3 separate regions of the Homo sapiens genome follow, and regions 1 and 2 are each linked to region 3. The links are contacts of gene promoters, found by promoter capture Hi-C in human tissues and cell types (Jung and others, 2019). All regions are on one chromosome and are shown on one strand. Each heading gives the region's core, a stretch centred on a gene start or on the middle of the fragment in contact. The rest is flanking DNA. Distances are from core to core; before and after follow the strand shown. Region 1 overlaps ATPSCKMT (ATP synthase c subunit lysine N-methyltransferase). Region 2 has its middle 110 kb from the start of ATPSCKMT. Region 3 holds the start of SEMA5A (semaphorin 5A).

Region 1 (4,454 bases), core at 259-2,758, 690 kb before region 3:
TCCCTCCCACAACACATGGGAATTCAAGATGAGATATGGGTGGGGACACAGAGCCAAACCATATCAATAAATCAAGGAGAAAGTTTTGAAATTCATATTTGAATGCTTTACGTATTTGAAGAGTATCTGTGGTTTCTGAGAAAATGTTTTCTTGCAGCACTGTAGTACTTGGGAACTATCTTAGGTGGGACAGCTGAGTCAAGGGATGCTCCCTTAAAGAATGGGGCAGGACAGAACAGGCAGAGAGAACCCAGGACTGCCCCACATCCCTCCCACTCTCCGGAGGCCAGTGGGATTCCACAGTTGACGTTATTGGGATTCATTTCATTTTACTTTTACCTGTTTTCAGTTTTGAGTAAACAGTCATTAACTACAAAGGAAATATGTAACTAATTGCAGATTTTTCATTGACAGGTTATTTTTATTGCATATTATTACTTGTTCACAAAACCATCCTCCCAGACACTTTCATTTCACTGCTGCTGTGCTAGCCCACTGATGGAGAGATGCAGTGGATTTTCAGCAATGTTTTGTTCGACCTCCCCGGGGGTTGGCTGACCTAGAATCAATTATGGAGGTGTTCCAAGTGAACCTGAATGTCTATTCTGATACTTGAGGTGAAGTCTTTAACCAATCAAGGAAACTAAGTTGCATGGGTTGACTATTACGTTGTCCACAAAGCTATATCGCTTTAGAGACACATTTTAAAATGATGTCTTAGTCACGGGAGGTGCTTTTTGATTGGATGTTTAAACCATTGATAGGAAATATTCATATTGTTTGACCATGTATGTTCATTTTTTCTTCTTATTTTGAATAAATCCTGCCTCTCTCCACAGGTCATAGCGGCTGCGAAGAAAGGGTTCACAGCAGTTGGTTATGAATTAAACCCATGGCTAGTTTGGTATTCCAGATACCGCGCTTGGCGAGAAGGTGTGCATGGATCTGCCAAATTTTATATTTCAGATTTGTGGAAGGTATGTAAGGCAGAGAATGGCCCTAGAGAAATCCAAGGGAAAATTTTATTATTCAAAATTAGTATGACTGAGAACTGAAAAATGTATTAAAAGAAAAATAATTAAAATCCAAGTGAATATTCTGGCATAATGAAATATGTAAAATTGATACGTTTTACAAATAGTCTCCTTTAGAGAGAAGCTTAAAGTTTTTATATGATAGGTCTTGTGAATTCCAAGAATTTATTTACTAAATTAAAATGTTGTCATTTCTGTTTCTTACAAAATAATGAGATTTTTCATCTCATTTGGAAATCCTATAAATTATTATTGATAAATATTAGACTTTTCCATTTGTGTGCCTGTGTGAGTGTGTGTATGCATATTCGTATATTTAGAGAGACACAGAGATGGTTGCTGGAGAATCGTGCTATCACGGTTATTTCTTATCCTCATAAAGTATAAGATACTTCCAAATTTATTTGTACTCTAAAAACTCTAAAAATGCCCTGTAATTTTGCTTTAGGAATGTTCCATAAAATGCTTTTTCTTAAATAAGAATTTTCCATTGTAATATTGTCATCAGTAGCTTACAAAAATTCACTTGAGTTTTGCTTGCATTGTTTTTTTATGCCATATGTGCATAAACGATCTCTCTATAGAGTAAATAAGACTTATTGGGCAATAAGAATTTTAACTGGCAAAGCACATTTCCCCCCAGTTTTTCAACTAAAGACCATTTTATTGCACTTTTTTACATAGTATTTTAGAGAAGAGGAGGGGGACTCAAATTTTAAGGATGGTTCAACAACAACAAAAAACAGATGGTTCTGAAGTCTCCTGTGTTCTGGTGAAGCTGGTGGTATAGAGTGGACTGGTGCGGGAACACGTGGCCCCGGTGCCACCAGCTGGTCACAGTGGGGTCACAGTGTGGTCACTAGCTGTCTGACGCATGACCACTGGGGCGTGCCCTGGATGGAGTCACCCTGAGGATGAGATGGGATGACTTACAGGGAAGCGTTTGGAAAACTGCAGTGGATTGAATTAAAATGAATGAGAGCATGAACATGTTATTCTTTTCCTTGTGAAATCTTAAGGAGGGCCGCTGTTCTTAGGAGTTCATCAAAACCCACCGTTTGGTAAAATGGAAAACTGCTACCCATTTCTGTAAAACAAGTTAAGCTTCACGTTTGGCTTTTTGCACTTAATCTACTGATTATTTTCCCACCTTGTTCAGGTTACTTTTTCGCAGTACTCGAACGTTGTTATTTTCGGTGTGCCTCAGATGGTGAGTATGCACTTTCCTGCTCTCTGTTTGGGGTTAGATGATGTTGAAGGCCCTTCCAGCCACAACACCACCACTCACCCGTGTGAGGGTGATGGCCTCCCAGAGATTTTAGGGAACACTGGATTTCAGTTCATTGATTTAATAAAATACTTCAGAGTCTTAGAAGTTTAATCATAAAAGATTCAGTCATACTTTTAAACTTTGGCTTCAGATTAAATTCTCAATGATTTCCCTAAGCCTTAAACATTCCAGTTTGGAAACTGCTTTCTGAGGTCCCGTGTCTAATGTAGTTTGCAGTTTTCACAGCCGCTCACTTCCACTTCGCTGAAATCGCTCCGGAAAGTTAATGAGATGTTCCCTCTGAATTGATCATTCCTCCCATTTGGAAGGAAGATAATTTTCTGGGTGGATGAGCATTGAGTAGTTTCAGTTTACCTCAGTTTACTGATTTGCTAGAGGATGGCATATTGAACTTTGATTATGTACTTTCAAAAGTGAAAATGCCACAGTATTGTACTGAAAATGGCCCTCCTTAGCCTTTGGAAGGATGGTCATGGTGGGAAGCTTTTGCTGTATTGCTGGTGCACAGACCATGGAAAGAAATCCCTTTTCACGTTTCAAAGTCTATCATTGTAGCCATAATAAAATTGGCAGAATTGAATGTTTGCTAAAATGCTGTGATATAGCTGATAGGGTTTTAATTTTTTAAAAAGACAATTTACCTTTTTTTATTTTGTTTTTTAATTAATACCCAAATTTTTGTATAAGACATTTCAGTGCTTGAGAAATGTATTTCTACTACTAAGACCTTCAGTATAATGCCATATTCTTTACTTTTAAAATATAATTTAGAAATGCTTTTGTAAAATATTCTTTTTTTTTTGAGCCAGGGTCTTGTTCTGTTGCCCAGGCTGGAGTGCAGTGGCATGATCTCGGCTCACTGCAACTTCTACCTCCCTGGTTCAAGCAATTCTCCTGCATCAGCCTCCTGAGTAGCTGGGACTACAGGCACCTGCCACCACGCCCAGCTAATTTTTATATTTTTAGTAGAGGTGGGGTTTTGCCATGTTGGCCAGGCTGGTCTTGAATTCCTGACCTCCAGTGATTTGCCTGCTTCGGCCTCCCAAAGTGCTAGGATTACAGGTGTGAGCCACTGTGCCCAGTCTTGTAAAATGTTCTTGAAAGTGACAGTATCCTGTACATTTATAATTCTCATTAGGCCTAAAATTAAGACCAAACTTTGGTATTCAGCCTTTTCTTATAGAAGTGAAATGAGGTAGAAGGGCACACTCCCTGGTCATTTTTAAAAAACTGATTGGGATCATAGATTGATACGCAATTTTGATGGTGATTTATTACCTGTGATGTTTGGGCTTTCGTTCTAAAATGGAATTGTTAGCTTTTTGGAGACAAGTAACTTTAATTTGAATCTGTGCTTTATAAAAATAGAATGTTAGCATTTACTGGAAATTCCATGCGTTGTGGAGAGGCAGGATGATGAAATCAGGATTACTTGTCCCAGCGGGGGGCAGCAGTGGCCTTTGGTAGTCATCGTCACTCCAGGACCTGTGGAGCCGACTCCGGGTGCTTCTTACCATGTTTGAAGTAGACTGACTCACTTTATGGAGCTGTTCAATCAGGGGAAATAAGAGTCTTATTATTTATGAATACTTTTGTGATTACTGTCCATTCTTCTGTATGTAGAGAAATCTGAAATAAGGAACATGTACCATTTCACTATTCCCAAGGAGAAAGGGGAGCAGCTGAAGGATACAAAGTGTCCACGTTCCCTGTAATAGAGATTTGGCCAGCTTGCTGTCTTCATGCTGGTGGGTCGGTCAGGGGTGCGGAGGCTGGGATGGCTTCTGTTGGTTTGGAAGGCTAAGTTTTGTGTGTGGAGGCCCCTACTTTCAGCCTTCATCAAGCTGTGTCTCAGTGGAGGCCATGAGGGGAGGGGGCGTGTGCTGTGCCAGTCGACCATCCCAGCCGTGGCTGGGTGACTCCACAAAGCCAGCATGCCATGTGACGTTCCCTGCTGATGCCCAGGTAGATACTCAGAGAGCCAGGGGAGCCTTGGGGAGGCCCAGAGCCAGGAATCTCTGGGGCTGTAAACCCTCACCCCTGCTTCTGATACCAGACTGATGATCCCTAACAGCTCTGTGCGGTTGTAGCTCAAAATCAGAGGTGCCCTAGCATTTCCACACAAGTAT
Region 2 (4,774 bases), core at 1,284-3,783, 590 kb before region 3:
TTGTATTTTTTTAAGTAGAGATGGGGTTTCACCGTGTTAGCCAGGATGGTCTCGATCTCCTGACCTCGTGATCCGCCCGCCTTGGCCTCCCAAAGTGCTGAGATTACAGGCGTGAGCCACTGCGCCCGGCTGTTTTATTTGTAAAAGTCAGTGGATGACAAAACAATTTCAGATGACAGGGTCCACTTGGCTTTCCTTCCCTCTCCTTAGAACCGAGCACCTTCCACAGCTTTTACCCCGGACACGTGTTTTTTGGCGCATCTGCAGAATCCCTCAAAACTTAATTATTTATAACAAAACAAAAAACAAAAAAACAGCGTAACAAGATGCATTTTCAAATAGTGAGTTCATCTGAAGCACCTTCTCGAGCAAGAGGTTTTGTTCCAGAGGCTGTGGGAATAATGGTAGTTCTGGCAAAATGGAAATGTGACTGGCCACTCACACAGTCCTAAGATCTCCTGCTTAAAAGAAGTGTGATAATGTGCGCTTGGGGAGAGTGACCGCATTCTTCTTACAATACAGTCCTACCCTGGAAATTGTGACTGAACCAGAAAACACCCCAGGCCGTGGCTTCCGCTGGTCAGATTTAGGGAAGATATGAGGAAAGGAAACCTAGAGAAATCAGGGGGAAGAGAGAAAATATGTTATAATGGCTAAATAAGCCCAAACTTATCAGTTGTGACAACGTAAACAATGAAATAAAAATCAGGATGAAACATAATGACTCAGAAAGTTTTAAAATTAATAAAAGAGAAGAACGTAGCAATATTCCAACAGATAAATTAGATCTCAAGATGAAAAGTATTAAGGACAGAGACAGCCATTTCATATTAATACAAGTGAAAATGCACGAAGGAGATATAATAGTTTTGACGTTGTATGCACCTAATACAATACCTTTGAAATACAGCCATTCCTTTGAATTACAAGGAGAAATTGACAATCCTGGAGAGATTTTGACACATCTTTCCTGTAGCGGGCTGAATGGTGGCTCCAAAGACATGTCCCCATCCTAATCCTTGGAATCTGTAAATATTACCTTATTTGTAAAAAGGGTCTTTGCAGATGTAATTAATTTAAGAACACTGAGATGAGATCATCCTAGATTATCCAGGTGGTTCCTAAATGTCATTGCAAGTATCTTTTTAAGAGAGAGGCAGAGAATTGACACAGAGGGGGAGGCCATGGGAAGGGGAAGGTAGACATTGTAATAAGTTGGCACAAGTCACGGAGTGTCCAGGAAGGTGGGCAGCCACCAGAAGCTAAGGTGGCCAGGGACAGACTCCCTTAGAGCCCCTAGAAGGACCACCACCCTGATGACACCTTGATTTTGGATTTCTGGCCTCCAGAACTTGGACAGAACAAATTTCTGCTGTTTTAAACCACCGAGTCTGTGATAATTTGTTACCGCGGCCACAAGAAATGAGTTCTCAAAAGCTACCATAGCAAGTAGAATAATAATTAATAAGAAAATAAAGGATTTGAAGAATTTAATTAACTCTACATCCAAGTGAGTATACTCATTAGTTTTAAGTACATGGGGAAATTTATAAAAAATTAACTATGTACTAAGCAACAAAGAAAAATCCACAATTTTCAAAGGCTGAAGTCATCAAGTCCTTTTTCCAATGGGGACCGGGGAGTAAAAATAGTAACCGACAACATAAAGATAGACAGGATATCCCCGCATAACATCTGGAGGTTAAAAAAAAACCTTCTAAATAATTCACGTTTTAAAGAGGAAATCATAATGGAGTACAGTACTTAAAACCGAATGACTGTAAAAGTTCTGCACATAAAAAGTTATGGGATAAAGCCACAGTGGTACTCAGAGGGGAATTTAGATCCAGAAGTGCATTTATTAGAAAACAAGAAAGATTAAAAATAAATGAGCTAAGCTTTCAACTTAAGAAACTATAAAAAAGAATAACAAAAATCTAAAGAAAGTAGAATGAAGAAGAAAACTAATATACAAGCAGGAATTAATGAAACAGAAGGCCAGAAATTCCAGTCATCAACATAACCAAAAGCAAGTTCTTTGACACAATTAACACAATAGACAAATTTTTGACAGGTATAATCAATAAAAAGGAGAGAAGACATAAATATCATGAGTAAACAAAAAAGGATTTATAACTACGGATACTATCAACCTTCAAAAATTATAAAAGAATTGAATATTTTTATACCAATACACTAAGAATGACTGATGTTGAAAACTTTCTAAGATAATATATATAAACAAATTGATCCAAGAGCAAGTAGAAAACCTGGATAGAGACACAATCATTAGATAAATGGAAATGATAGACAAAGATCAATAACCAAAGAGGCAACAAATCCGTAGAGTTTAAAAGATGATTTTTATAAAGTATTTAAGGAACAAATAACCTAAATCCCCTGAAACTATTCTAGAGTTTAGAAAAAGATGGAAAGCTGACCAACTCCTTTTGTGAAGTTAGTAAAAACACTATTATCAAAATAAGATAAGGAAAGCATAAGAAAAAAAAACACACACAAAGGATCATTATACTTGTACATGTAAAAACCACAAAGAAAATATTAGTAAATTGAATCCTATAATTTATTAATAATATAATATAACTCGAGCCACTAGGGTTGGTTCAACAACAACAAAAAATGGACAAATTGTCAATTTGTCAATGCTTTACTAAATTAGTGGGGAAAAAAATCCCCATAATTTTCACAGTAGATCCTGCCATTTGTCCAGCTCCCATAAACATTCATTCATGACACAAACACCTAGAAAACTGAATAAAGGAGAACTCCCTGAACTATTAAAGGATGTAAACCAGGAAACTGTAGGAACCACCATGCCTAGCGGTGCCACAAAATTAAAGTCAAATCACATCTCCCATATCACAGCTTAGCCCAAATTCAAGAAAAGAAATACAAATTGGAAAGGAAGAAACAAAACTCTTGTTATTTTCCGAGGCCATAATTGCTCAGTTTGGAAAATCCGAAGAATAACCTGACAAATGATTAAAACCAATTAATTAGTTTAGCGGGAGTGCTGAATGTGAGTTGGACATATAAAGATTGGCAACTTTTCTTCCTTCAGCAAAAACCAATTAGAAATTTCAATAGGAAAAATGATCCTATTAATACTAACAAATGCATAATACTAACAATACATAATACTAACACAATACATAATACTAACAAAATCTTTTGGGTATTGGAGACTACACCTTTGGCAACCATGCCAAAGGCCTAGCCATCCTCTTTTTTTTTTAACTTTTTTTTTTTTTTTTTTTTTTTTGAGATGGAATCTTGCTCTGTCGCCCAGGCTGGAGTGCAGTGGCGTGATCTCGGCTCACTGCAAGCTCTGCCTCCTGGGTTCACGCCGTTCTCCTGCCTCAGCTTCCTGAGTAGCTGGGACTACAGGCGCCTGCCACCACGCCCGGCTAATTTTTTTTTTTTGTATTTTTAGTAGAGATGGAGTTTCACTGTGTCAGCCAGGGTGGTCTCGATCTCCTGACCTCGTGATCTGCCCACCTCGGCCTCCCAAAGTGCTGGGATTACAGGCTTGAGCCACTGCACCCGGCCTTAACTTTTTTTTTTTTTTTTTTACTAAAAAATCCCCTTAAGCTTTGCTTGGCTTGTCAATATATTCACCAAAGATAAAGGATCTCTCAGCATCTTTGCAGGTGGTGTTAGCCGTGTGATGGTCTGCTCAATGATATGTAAGTAGAATTCCTGCAGGAGGGGGCTCCTCATCAGATAAGAAGACAGCACTTGGTAAGAAGCTGCTGTTGGCTCTTCCACCTTCTTCCTGCCTGGAATACAGACAAGATACCAGGAGGTACAGCAGGCTTCTTGGGATCACATTGTGACCACTTTCTGCTGAAGATGGTGGAGGAAAAGACAGAAGATGCTCAGTTCCTTGATGATCTCCTGGAGCAAATCACTGGCCTGGGCTGCCTTACCTTGGGCTTCTTGGTGAAGGGTGAGGTTGGGAGGGAGAGACAAAGAGGTAGGGGACCTTACTGGTTACAGCCATTGGTGTTTAGATTTCCTCTAACTCACAAGTGAACACAGCCCAGATGCAAAATCTAACAAAAAAGTGTTAAAACCAAATGACCATGAGATGTCACTACATAGCTATTAGAATGGCCCAGATCCAGGATGCCGACAACACTGAATCCTGGTGAGAACGTAGAGCAGCAGGAGCTCTCATTCATTGCTGGTGGAAATGCAGAATGGTGTGGCCACTTTGGAGGACAGTTTGGCAGTTTCCTATAAAAGAAAACATACTCTTACCATAGGATCCAGCAGTCACTTTCCTTGGTATTTACTCAAATGAGTTGAAAACTTCTGTCCACACAAAACCTGCATATGGATGTTTATAGCAGCTTTATTCATAATTACCCTAACCTGGAAGCAACCAAGAGGTCCTGCAGTAGGTGAATGGATAAACAAACTGTGGTACATCCAGACAGTGGAATACTATTCAGTGTTAAAAAATGAGCTATCAAGTCATAAAAAGACATGGAAGAACTTAAATGCATGCTGCTGAGTGAAATAAACTAACCTGAAAATGCTACATACATCTGCTCCCAAATATATGACATTCTGGAAAAGGCAAAACTATGGGGACAGTAGAAAGACCAGTGGTTGCCTAGGGTTGGGGGGATGGATGGATAGGTGGAAGACAGAAAATTTTTAGGGCAGTGAAAATTCTCTGTGTGTTATTGTAATGGTGGATACATGTCATTATACGTGTGTTCAAACACATAGAATGAAGAGCACC
Region 3 (4,784 bases), core at 1,047-3,546:
TCACTTTAAACAAAGGATGCACTCTAAATTATAATTTGGTTTATTTACCTGCTTATTAGCAATTATTTTGTAATTAATCACAATTATCACTAAAATATACATCTTTTAACAATGCATTGGTGCAGCCTGTAAACAGCAAAACTGAATTCAACTCCCCCCTACATATATACAAAATTATGTAATTTATCCAGTTAAATGTTATGTTATCAGACCTATTGGGTCATGGTTTAGAAAGCTATCTTCTTCCCACTGCTTAGCTCTATATGCCAAGAGTTTTTTTGCTTTTTTTTTTTCTTTTCAAGTATTAACGGCAATGTTCAGAGGCAAGAAGAGGATTAGCTGAATACATTGGGTTCTAATTTCTGTCTCCCTCACCCTGGCCACGTAGGCTCCACAGGTCCAGGCAAAGGCTGCAGATCCAAGCATAAGGCAGCTTCCTCCCTACATCTTTCCCCCTAGAAGCAGCCAGGCAAGACCTTGGCCTGCCTCTTCCTCCCAGGGAGGCTCCTAGGCCTCTGTGCCACGTAGGCAAGATAATCGGAATGTCTGGAATGGAACTAGTGCTCTAAGTGCCAAGCAAGGGAAGGGAGAACGGTTAAGCTTTTCCTTCAGGTCCCCAGGAGCCTGCAGCTGCCACACAGCAGGCCGGGAGCCCCCGCCACAACCCAGGGAGGAATGCTTGCCAAGAAGGCCTGCCCAGCTACTGACACTTCCTCCCAGAGGTCTTAAAGGAAATCCCAGTAAGGCCTGAGTACCCAAGACAGCCAGATCACCCGTGCCAGAGACTGGGCATTTGGGGATGGGCTGGGCTTTCATAGAAACCTTCGGAATTGCTTTCACTTAATTCTTTTATTTTAAAAAAAAGTTCTAGAAAATAAAGACACATCGATAGCAATTTGTATTTCCATTGTCCTCTTAGGTCTGCATGGCTACTGTGCGAGCTATGACACCCTGCAGCCTGCAATAGCTTCTTTGTTTTATGGATGAGCTCAATGGAACCCTTATGGACGCACCGGACCATGCCCAGGACCAGCGAGGCCCATCCATACCCCACCACTGGCTGGAAGGGCGCTGGTGTGAACGTGGGTCCTTGCGGGGGTCCCTACCTCACTGCGGTCAGGAGGGGGCAATTCACACATTTCCTCATGCAGGGGACCTTCAAGCCTCCCTCTGAGGCGCAGACTGAGTAAAAAGGGCCCAGAGATACTGTCCCGCACCCCCATCCAGTGGGAAAGGGCCACTCAAGGCCAGTCAGGACTCCCAACCCAAGTTTTATGCCTTATACTCCTATAACTTTACCATTTGCTCTTTTCGCGAGGCTGACCCCCTCCCTCTCCCCCCCCACCGCCTCCTCCAGAAACTGAAGAACTGCAACAAAGTGTCCAATTATACACGTCTTCAAAGGTACTTTACTTGCTTCCCAATTATCAACTTTTCACCTGAGTACTTAGTAAGGCCCAAGGATCCTGCAAAAGTGCAACAAGGAATAATTGACACAGAATTGGACGAATGACTTTGACCATACGGGACTTCTCTCTTAACGCTCAGCGTGGCTACCTGGGGACGCCTTCTCTGGCCTCCCTGATTCGTCAGATTTGTTCATTTCCTTGACTTAATCCCGCTGAAATCGACCCGAACTAGCCGGGAGTCTCACCCCCAAAGTGCTCCTCCAAGAACCCGCAACGACTGACTCTCTCGTCTTCTTTAAGGAGTTTCTCCCTCAGAACGGATGAGGATGTCACACAGAAAGAACAAAATCACAAAGTTCGAGTTCCGGAGGACCAGACGGCCCCTGCCCCCCATCCCCCGGGCCAGATTTAGCCGAGGGAACCGCACGTACCTGAAGCCGAGGCCGGCAGAGAGGGAGCGCCACGTCTCAGGTCTCGGCCGGCGCCCCCCTCCGGGGTGCAGCCACGTCTGAACCGGGACAGCGGGCGGGGGAGCCGCAGAGGGACCCAGTGAGACGGGGGAGGGAGCCCCCAAAAGTCAGCGCTCGGCCGCACTCGCACTGGGGAGGCTGGAATGGAACTCCTGGGGTGCAGCGGGGCTCCCAGGAGCGAAGGTGGGGGTCCTGTACCGGGAAGGGGCGGGGCCCGGGGAGGGGCTCGGGGAGGTCAGGCGCGGGTGGGGCGCTCGAGTTTCACCCCGGCGGGGAGGAGGAGGAGGAGGAGGCGGCGCGGCGGCGGGGGCGGGGCAGGGGCGGGGCGGGGCGGGGGTGGGCCCAGGCTGTCCCCCGCTCCCCGCCCAGCGCTCTCCGCCCCGCGCTCTCCGCGCCCGCTCGCCCCGCGCCGATCTACTTGCCGGGAAGGCGGCGCCGGTGGCGGCTGCTCTCCCTGAGCCCGCTCCCGAGCGCTGCTTTCCCGCCGCGGGTGGGCTTCGCAGCCTCAGGCCAGCCGCGGCCCTTGGCCCGCTGCAGCCCCGGCCCTCCACCTTCCCCGTGCAGGGGCGGCCCGGCCAGTGTCGCTCATCCCGGGACGCTCCCTTCTCCCACCCAGGACTGCCCCGCGGAGCTGGCTTGGACACCCAACTTTGCCACCTCGAGGGTCGTCTCTGCTGGGCGCGAACCTGCCCACCCACCGGTTGGCCGCGCGCTCGGGGACCGTGCTCGTGGCCCCCAAGCCGGTGCCCCCATTCTGGAACTCAGCGAGTAGGGGGCGGCTCTGGGGAAGTGGCAGGGGGCGGCTGCAGCTGCTGCCTCCACTTCCCTAGCCAGGTGCTGAAGAGGATCCTCGGAGCCGCTCTGGCCCCCAGGCGCTGGATGACTGGCACCAGCGCTCCTCGCACCTGGTGAGCGACCCCCGCCCGATTCCTGCGTGGCCTTGGCAGGAGCCCCTGACCGCGCCGCGCCGCGCCGCGCCGCTGGCCGGGACCCGGGGACTGCAGCGGTCGGCTGGTGGGTGGTGCCGATCTCGGGTGGGATCCATCAGCAGGCACCTGGGCGGGGGTTGCGCGTACAGGATTAGGACGACCGTCAGTCCGGGGGCGCCCACAGTTGAGCTAGTGCACGGGCTGGAAGTTTGTGTACCCGCCTGTGCCGAGGTCTGAGCATGGAGAGGTAAGGAGCCGGAGTGTCGCGGTGGGCGAGACGGGACCCCTGCCCAACACCCGGAAAGGTGCGCACACTGGTCTGTGCCCGCCCCCGGCGCGCCTCCAGGCTCGCACTGCCGCGAGCCGGGGGCAGGGGACACGGAGGTCGGGACTTGGCGGTTCGGGAGCGGCCACCTCGCAGCCCCACCGGCTTGGGCAGGTTTTCCTGCTTTCCTTACAGGGGAACCGGGAGGCAATGGGACTTGGGCTCAACTCCGCCAAGCGCCTTGGTTAATGAAAGACACTAAGGCGGGGGATGCAGAGGCCTGGGGAACCACCAGCCAGGTGCGCTGCAGCTAGGCGAGCCCCTTTCACCAGGCATCCCTCCGCTGCTCCACGGATTTTGCACACCGCGGCTCAGGGTTTCAGACCCCAGGGTTTCGGGCAGATCGGGCTCCAGAGGGAATGGTTTCTCCCAAGATGTGCGTGGGAACGGTCGTGGAGGAGTGATTCCCCCGGCTCGCTCCCCGCGGCGGCCGGTGCCTGGCTTGGAGCGGTCACATCCCTGTTCCCCTGGCTTTGGCGGGAAGCGCGTTCACCTCCTCGCCCTTTGCTTGCTTTGTACCAGGATGCCGCGGCCGGAGTTGGGATTTAACTTTCCTGCGCCTGCGGCGTCCTCGGGATTCCCGGCAGGGGGCGCTGCGAGCGAGCGCTCGGAGGACGAGGCGCCACAGGCAGTTGCTGGGTCCTGGGCGAGTGGGCGGGAGTCCCAGGCAACAAACAGCAGAACCAGGCAGATCTTGCAATAATTTCATTTTGGGGGCCGGGGGTTGGGGGAGCTGATCTGGTGGCTATAGAGAGCTGTCAGCCTTGCTAGGAGAGGGGACAGGAAAGGTGGTGGCCAGACATAAATGCTCTAACTAGAAAGGTCTCTTCCAGAGAAAAAGATCGCTGTAAAGTCTTCCTTGTCTGGGCATCTGCCTTCCTTGTGACTGTTACATTTACTCAGAAAGAAATCGAAATTGAGGGAAGATAACGTGAGCTTTGTTTAATACCGTTCTGCTTTTTAGGGGTACTTTAGTTAACACATCAGGAGTCACAAATGATTGTTCTGGTTTGTTTTGAAGAAAGACAAGTTTTACGTCTAGCTTACCGAGAAGAGCTCTGTCATAATGGCTGAGTTTGGAATCAGCAGATATGTTATTAATTATAGAGGTAGTCTGTTCATAAGGAGACAGAAACACAAAACCAGGCTTTAATAAGAAAGATTTTTCAATACCTAATTAGGATTGCTGAATTTGTTGCTAATTAATGCCAGTTTCATTATTTTAGAGAGTGTAATGTTTATCATGACCACTTTACACAACTTCAGTTCAAGCAGATAATACCATTAAGTTATGTATAACTGAAATAATTTTCTTGTCTGTGCCTGTATTTACACCAAAAGAAACATGGATTTTTTTTTCCCCTCCAAAAGATTTCTTTTTCTATGTTTTTTTTTTTTTTTCATGAAAAATACAGCCCTAAGTGTAATTGTTTGGTTCACTTGAAACACAGATGTTTTTTCCCTTGAGTTTCTTTCTTGTAAAAACTTTGGAGATAGAAGCTTGCTCATCCACGTTGCTCCATGCAGTCACACTAAGCATCTGTATACTCATTGAAGTGTGGGGTTGACAAACTGACATCTATTTCTATGTGCTTTTAGCCAATATGTACTTTTATTAACAGGGAGAAGACAGATGATGCTAATCATTTTA

The links. The method cuts DNA at HindIII sites, captures the fragments that hold promoters and counts their contacts. A contact is called where the count stands out against the background at its distance.
Region 1: a fragment that was not itself captured here is called in contact with the fragment with the promoter of SEMA5A in region 3 in 1 of the 25 tissues and cell types used here (dorsolateral prefrontal cortex).
Region 2: a contact is called between a fragment that was not itself captured here and the fragment with the promoter of SEMA5A in region 3, in 1 of the 25 tissues and cell types used here (hippocampus).

The regions. Positions count from the first base shown.
Region 1 is chr5:10,233,001-10,237,454 of GRCh38, reverse strand. ATPSCKMT (ATP synthase c subunit lysine N-methyltransferase) reads left to right here. Exons shown (of 5, transcript NM_199133.4): 3 at 840-977; 4 at 2,194-2,244. Among named protein-coding and RNA genes, the nearest start is that of ATPSCKMT, 15 kb to the left of the region's middle. The HindIII fragment of the contact is 6,092 bases long and covers 1-4,454 here.
Region 2 is chr5:10,133,390-10,138,163 of GRCh38, reverse strand. No RefSeq gene overlaps it. Among named protein-coding and RNA genes, the nearest start is that of ATPSCKMT, 110 kb to the left of the region's middle. The HindIII fragment of the contact is 6,248 bases long and covers 1-4,774 here.
Region 3 is chr5:9,543,587-9,548,370 of GRCh38, reverse strand. It overlaps SEMA5A (semaphorin 5A), which reads left to right and starts at 2,296. Exons shown (of 23, transcript NM_003966.3): 1 at 2,296-2,787. It overlaps SNHG18 (small nucleolar RNA host gene 18), which reads right to left and starts at 2,171. Exons shown (of 3, transcript NR_045196.2): 1 at 1,841-2,171. RefSeq lists a silencer at 2,173-2,362. The HindIII fragment of the contact is 8,719 bases long and covers 1-4,784 here.